Regions from separate parts of the Homo sapiens genome. Here region 1 is linked to region 2. Evidence: promoter capture Hi-C in human tissues and cell types (Jung and others, 2019). All regions are on one chromosome and are shown on one strand. The core of a region is centred on a gene start or on the middle of the fragment in contact, and the rest is flanking DNA. Distances in the headings are between cores, read along the strand shown. Region 1 overlaps HMCES (5-hydroxymethylcytosine binding, ES cell specific). Region 2 holds the start of EFCAB12 (EF-hand calcium binding domain 12).

Region 1 (3,046 bases), core at 245-2,744, 140 kb after region 2:
CCCAATCACATCAATAATTACATTAAATTAAATGTTCTAAACACAAATTAAAAGAATGATTGTCAGACTGAATCAAAAAGGAAAATCCAACTATCTGTAGTGTAAAAATTAAGTTCAAGTCCAGGCGCAGTAGCTCATGCCTGTAATCCCAGCACTTAGGGGGTGCTGAGGCAGGCGGATCACCTGAGGTCAGGAGTTAGAGACCAGCCTGGCTAACATGGTGAAACCCTGTCTCTACTAAAAATACAAAAATTAGCCAGACATGGTGGCACGCACCTGTAATCCCGGCTATTCAGGCGGCCGAGGCAGAATTGCTTGAACCCAGGAGGTGGAGGTTGCAGTGAGCTAAGACCACACCATTGCACTCCATCCTGGGCAACAAGAGTGAAACTCTGTCTCAAAAAAAAAAAAAAAAAAAAAAAAAAGAATTAATGTATATTAAGCTAATACACATTAAGTTCCTAGAAAGAGTAACTGACTAGTAGTAAGTGCTTAATATTTGCTATTATAATTGATAGATGTTTTATAAATTAATCTTGTCTTGTACCAAATCATTTGTGTGTTACTAGACTGGCTAGACTGGGAATTTTCTTTTTTAATTTATGTTTTATTTCAATAGGTTTCTGGGGAACAGGTGGTGTCTGGTTACATGAATAAATTCTTTAGTGGTGATTTCTGAGATTTTGGTGCACCCATCACTGATAGGGAATTATCTGAGGGTGAGGCAAACTCTCTTGACTACTGAAACTGCCCCAAAGAGTTAAAAAACAAACAAACAAACAAAAACACCAATGACTAAATTCTTGGGCTTACAGGATAGCACATAAGAAAATAACTTGCTGAAACAGTGAAACTCCCTCCGCTTGTAAGATAACAAAACTGGCTGAATTGGTTGGAACCAATAACTGACTAGAGTATATGCAAAACAAGCTTGCTTATATCACAGCCTGAATTTCCACCACATTTCACACTAACTCCCCCTGAATTTGCACATGAGACCTATATGGAGGCAGGAAGAGATAACTGCACATACCTGAAGACTTTCCAGGCCTCCCCTTTCCTTCCACCAATCACCTACTAATCCCAGAATCCACTCCCTAAACATTTTTTTAATAAAAGTACTCCTTAAAGCCAGCTAGGGAGACAGAGTTGAGCTGGACTCCTGTCTTCTTGTTAGTCGACTTGAAATAAAAAACTTTTCTCGGCCAGGCGCAGTGGCTCACGCCTGTAATCCCAGCACTTTGGGAGGCCGAGGCGGGTGGATCACAAGGTCAGGAGATTGAGACCATTCTGGCTAACACCGCGTCTCTACTAAAAATACAAAAAATTAGCCGGGCCTGGTGGCACACGCCTGTAGTCCCAGCTACTTGGGAGGCTGAGGCAGGAGAATCGCTTGAACCCGAGAGGCAGAGGCTGCAGTGAGCCGAGATCACGCCACTGCACTCCAGCCTGGGCAACAGAGAGAGACTCTGTCTCAAAAAAAAAAAAAGAAGAAAAAAAAAAACTTTTCTCTGTTACCCAGGCTGGAGTGCAGTGGTGCAATCTCGGCTCACTGCACCCTCCACTCCCCACCCCAGGCTCAAGCTATCATTCCACCTCAGCCTGCCAAGTAGCTGGGACCAGCTACTCAGTATCATGGTATTGGCTTCTAGCACATTGGGTAGCAAGTCCCTTTTACTCGGTAACACTATTTCCAGTCCCCAAAATGAGATGACAGGTGAACAAACAATTCCCAATTTTAACAAGCAAACTGCTAAGAACTCAGGTGCTTTAGCAGTGTCAGACTAAATAATCTAATTAAAAATAAAACATGATGTTGGCATGTCAGATTTGTTTTCAATCTCCTGATAATGTTTTAACATGAACAGTTCAAATTATGTCTTACAGTGAAAGGGTTTTTGTTTCATTTTTGAGATGGGGTCTCACTCTGTCACTCAGGCTGGAGTACAGTAGCACGACCTCAGCTCACTGCAACCTCCACCTCCTGGGCTCAAGTCATCTTCCCACCTCAGCCTCCCAAGTAGCTGGGACCACGCCCAGCTAATTTTTTGTATTTTTGGTAGAGATGGGTTTTCGCCATGTTGCCCAGATTGGTCTTGAACTCCTGAGCTCAAGTAATCCACCTGCTCTGGCCTCCCAAAGTGCTGGGATTACAGGCATGAGCAACCGTGCCTGGCCTGAACCACTGCGCCCAGCCACAGTGAAAGTTTTATGAAGGAAATGTTAAACGTAGAGTTGTAATATGACCTAGCAATTCCACTCCTAGGCATCTATCCAAGAGAGATGAAAACAAATCCATGCAAAACTTGTACATGAATGTTCATAGCAGCATTATTCATAATAACCAAGAAGTGGAAACAATCCAAGTGTCTATCAACTGATGAATGAATTAACAAAATGTGGTCTGTTCTTACAAAAAGGAATGAAGTGCTGATCCATGCCAAACATGGATGAATCTTGAAAACATTATGCTAAATCAAAGAAGCCAGTCACAAAAGACCACATATTCTATGATTCTGTTTTTATGAAATGTCCAAAATAGGCAAATCCAGAGATGGAAAGTAGATTCGTGTTTGACAGGGGCTGGGCATAGTGGAGAATAAAGAGTGATTGCTAATGGATATGTAGTTTCCTTCTAGAGTGATAAAAATATTCTAAAAATAGAGGTAATAATTGCATACTTTGAACATACTAAAACATTCCTGAATTGCACATTTTAAAAAGGTGAATTTTAAGGTGAATTATCTCTCAATGAGCTCATTTCATTTCATTTCACTTTATTTTATTTTATTTTGACAGAGTCTTGCTCTGTCGCCCAGTGCAGTGGTGTGATCATAGCTCATTGCAGCCTCTATCTCGTGGGTTCAAGTGATCCTCCCACCTCAGCCTTCCGAGTAGCTGGGACTACAGGCACACACCACCATGCCCAGCTAGTTTTGTATTGTTTGTAGAGACGGGGTTTCACCATGTTGCCCAGGCTGGTCTCAAACTCCTAGGCTCAAGCAATCTTCCCGTCTTGGGCTCCCAAAGTGCTGGGATCACAGGC
Region 2 (3,295 bases), core at 681-3,180:
GTGGGAGAATCCCTTGAGCCCAGGAGATTGAGGCTGCAGTGAGCTATGATCACACCACTGCACTTCAGCCTGGATGACACAGCAAGACCCTGTCTTAAAAAAAATAAGTCTTAATGCCATTTTTATTACAAGTATTGTTACAGTTCAAATACCAAAGCATTTACTATTAGAAAGAAACCAAGGGAAAAAACTAGTTACTATGTCTTAATTACCAACTACCATTTTAAGGTATAATTTGAAAATTAAATTGATTGAATAAATGAAAAATAAATCAGTTGTTCAGGAAACTGCCTTTGTTGTAGGGCAGTGTGAACCGAATCAGGCTGCAGTGTGATGCAGAGGTAGTTGGTTGTTTCCACTTTAGTGAGTGTCAGTTTTTAGAAGGATAGATTTTGACCAGAGAACAGGAAAACTGGCCACACCTCCCTCTCCCCAAGGCAAACCCACTTTATAGTTTACCATCACATTTTCATTTAACAAACATCCAAGTAGCATTCACAAAGTGTAAAGCCCTGTGGTGGGGAGGGGCACAAAGATAAACAAGTTCTGTACAGACCCTCACAGAGAGAAAGAAGGGCACCTAATAATGGAAGGGAACAAAAGCGGTAAGGAGTAGGGACAAGACACCCAAAGAGGGTGGAGAGGGGCCTCTGAAACCTTGGGCCCAGCTGGGCCTGGAGGGTGGGGCGAGCTCACCAAGCTCAGGGCATCAGGTGTGGCTTTGTGGTAGGGCTGGTGGTCACATACCTTCCCCCAGCATCTCCATGGGGAGTGTGGGCCCGTGTGAATGCAGGAGGCGAGCTCTGCACCAGGGGAGCTCAGGACACAGCCAGGTTGCTCAGGCTCTAGGCCTGGCTTTTCCTGTTTCTTGCAGGTGAGGTTGCCTGACCTCTGTACCTGTTAACTTGTCTTTTAAAAATGGGATAGTGGTGTCTACCTCACACAATGATGGTAATTATGAAGTTCAGACATGTAGTGCTAAAATGGTACCTGGCTTGCAAGAGTGCTGTGTGAATGTGGCCCATGGCAACAATCTGTTTGCAAGCGTCACAAAGATAGCTTGTCTCAGCAAAGGAATAAGGGCTTAGGTGTTTCTCTTTAACTTTTTAAAAATTGAGCTAAAAGCCACCATTTAACCATTTTAAAGTGTACAGTTCAGTGGTTTAGTACATTTACAGTGTGCAGCCATCATCACTAATTCCAGAAGTTTCCATTTCTTTTTTCCACTCCAAAAAGAATCTCTCCACCTGTTAGCAGTCACTTCAATTACTCACCCCATCCCCTAGCAACCATTCATCTACTTTCCGTGTCTGTGGGTTCGTCTATGCTGAACATTTCACATAAATGGAATCATACAGCACGTGGCCTTTTGTGTCTAGCTTCTTGCTTAGCATACTGTTTTGAAGGTTTATCCATATTGTAGCATGTACTTCATTCCTTCTTATGGCCATCCTATGGATATACCTCATTTTGCTTATCAGTTGATGCACATTTCAAGGGTTTATTATTATTCTCTGGTCCTCAGGTTCTGTAACTCCAAACCATGGCACCCTGCCATAAGCGGGGCAGAACATACCCAACACCTCTATCTGGCCACAGCTCACTTTGGTTCTTCCTAACCCTCTGGAGGAGGCAGGGCCTATTTTTCCTATGAGAAAACTGAGGCCTAGAGATATGGAGACCTGCGGAAGATCCCACATTTCACGGGAAAACCGGAGACTTTCTACACTGGATTCAGGGACTACTGGGCCGAACAAAGAAATCCCGCCTTTCACCAAGCCCAGAACTGGGCGGGGCGTGGATTTGCTCGCTGCCCCTCCCAGAATTGGACGAAAACGAGGTGGGGCCAGCAGGCGCTCGGCAGGGCGGGCTCGCTCTTAACACGTGACAGCGCTCAGCCAATTGGCGCGGGGCGTCCGTAGCCACGGCAACAGGTTGCTTCTGCAGTCTGAGCTGAGCGCCTTTCGCACGACTTGGAGTTACGGTTTATCTGATACCCCGGTACCCCTACGCAAGCAAGCCCACATCGACACACATTCACACACGCCCTTCAGCACCCCCTCCCAGCACCACGACCATGGACGACGACTATGAAGCGTACCACAGTCTGTTCTTGTCGCTGCTCGGTAAGCCCCGGGAAGAAGCGTCTGCAGGGAGCGCTCAGCGCCCTAAGGACGCGTGAAAGTGGGGTGAGGGCAAAAACTCAGCCACAGATATTGTGCCGACCCCCTCTGGGTGAAGGGTTGCCATGGAGTCGGGGGCAGGTCATGTACATTTCTGAGATTTCTATCTGAGCCTAGTTGGAGGAACCAGAGGCCCGACCCATGTGACGGGAGCCCTCCAGCTCGCCCTGTTTCTCTGCAGGACATTAATGTATTCAGTACTGGAGGAGAGGCATGGAGAAGACGTCAGTCTTCAAGGTTTTGGCAGTAATGTGCTGGGGACCAAGTTCTTGGCAAAGCAATGCAGCTTCACGGGTAAAGGACAGAGATAAATGGATAATTACAGAATAAGAAGGGGTAAATGCCGGGCCCAGGGATGACACCCAGGAGTAAAAGGTGTGCTGAGGGTATGGGATGGGGAGGAACAGTTCCAAGCTTTTGGAAAAGATCTTTACACTGGAGCTTAAAGGATAAAAAGGAGTTCTCCAAGCCAAAAGGGGAAGGAAAAGCATTTCGGGCAAGGAAACAGCATGACCCAAGAGGTCTGGTGTCTCTGGAAATGAGGTGAGAGAGGTCAGAAGGGACAAGATCATAAAAGATACTGCAAGCCAGGAGATGGAGAGGCCACTGGGAGTGGCAGGACTGGATTGGGAGCAGTCAGAAAAGACCTGAGACTGAGTTGGCAGACTCAGAATGTTGGTGTGGGGAGATGAGAGCTGGGGGCTATAAAGCTTGAAGACTGAAGGTCTTCTCCATGCCGCTTCTCCAGCACTGAACACATTAATGCCCAGTGGAGAAACAGGGAGAGCTGGAGAGGCTGGCCACCTTTCCCAGGCACACAGGTCAGGGCTCTGGTCAAATGCCCAAGCTAAAGATGCTGGGAGGTGAGGGAGAAGGCCCAGGCTAGAGGGAACTACGGGACTTGGGGGCTGGTTGGTCAGGAAACACAGAAGAGGCAAATAAAGATGGTTCTCAAGTTGGCAGCTGGGGGACCTGGTAGATGGAGATGTCTTCCACAGAGATAAGAGAACGTACTCAGAGGACCCAGTTAGTGGGGGAAGGGGCACAAAGACAAATCCAGTCTTGGTTGGTTGAGTTTAAGATCCTTGTCAGTAGCTGGGCACAGTATCTCA

What was found. The method cuts DNA at HindIII sites, captures the fragments that hold promoters and counts their contacts. A contact is called where the count stands out against the background at its distance.
Region 1: a fragment that was not itself captured here is called in contact with the fragment with the promoter of EFCAB12 in region 2 in 2 of the 25 tissues and cell types used here (mesenchymal stem cells and spleen).

What each region holds. Positions count from the first base shown.
Region 1 is chr3:129,290,941-129,293,986 of GRCh38, reverse strand. All of the region lies in intron 4 of HMCES (5-hydroxymethylcytosine binding, ES cell specific), which reads right to left. Among named protein-coding and RNA genes, the nearest start is that of HMCES, 14 kb to the right of the region's middle. The HindIII fragment of the contact is 7,582 bases long and covers 1-3,046 here.
Region 2 is chr3:129,427,271-129,430,565 of GRCh38, reverse strand. It overlaps EFCAB12 (EF-hand calcium binding domain 12), which reads left to right and starts at 1,930. Exons shown (of 9, transcript NM_207307.3): 1 at 1,930-2,126. The coding sequence starts at 2,078. RefSeq lists a silencer at 1,744-1,793. The HindIII fragment of the contact is 10,320 bases long and covers 1-3,295 here.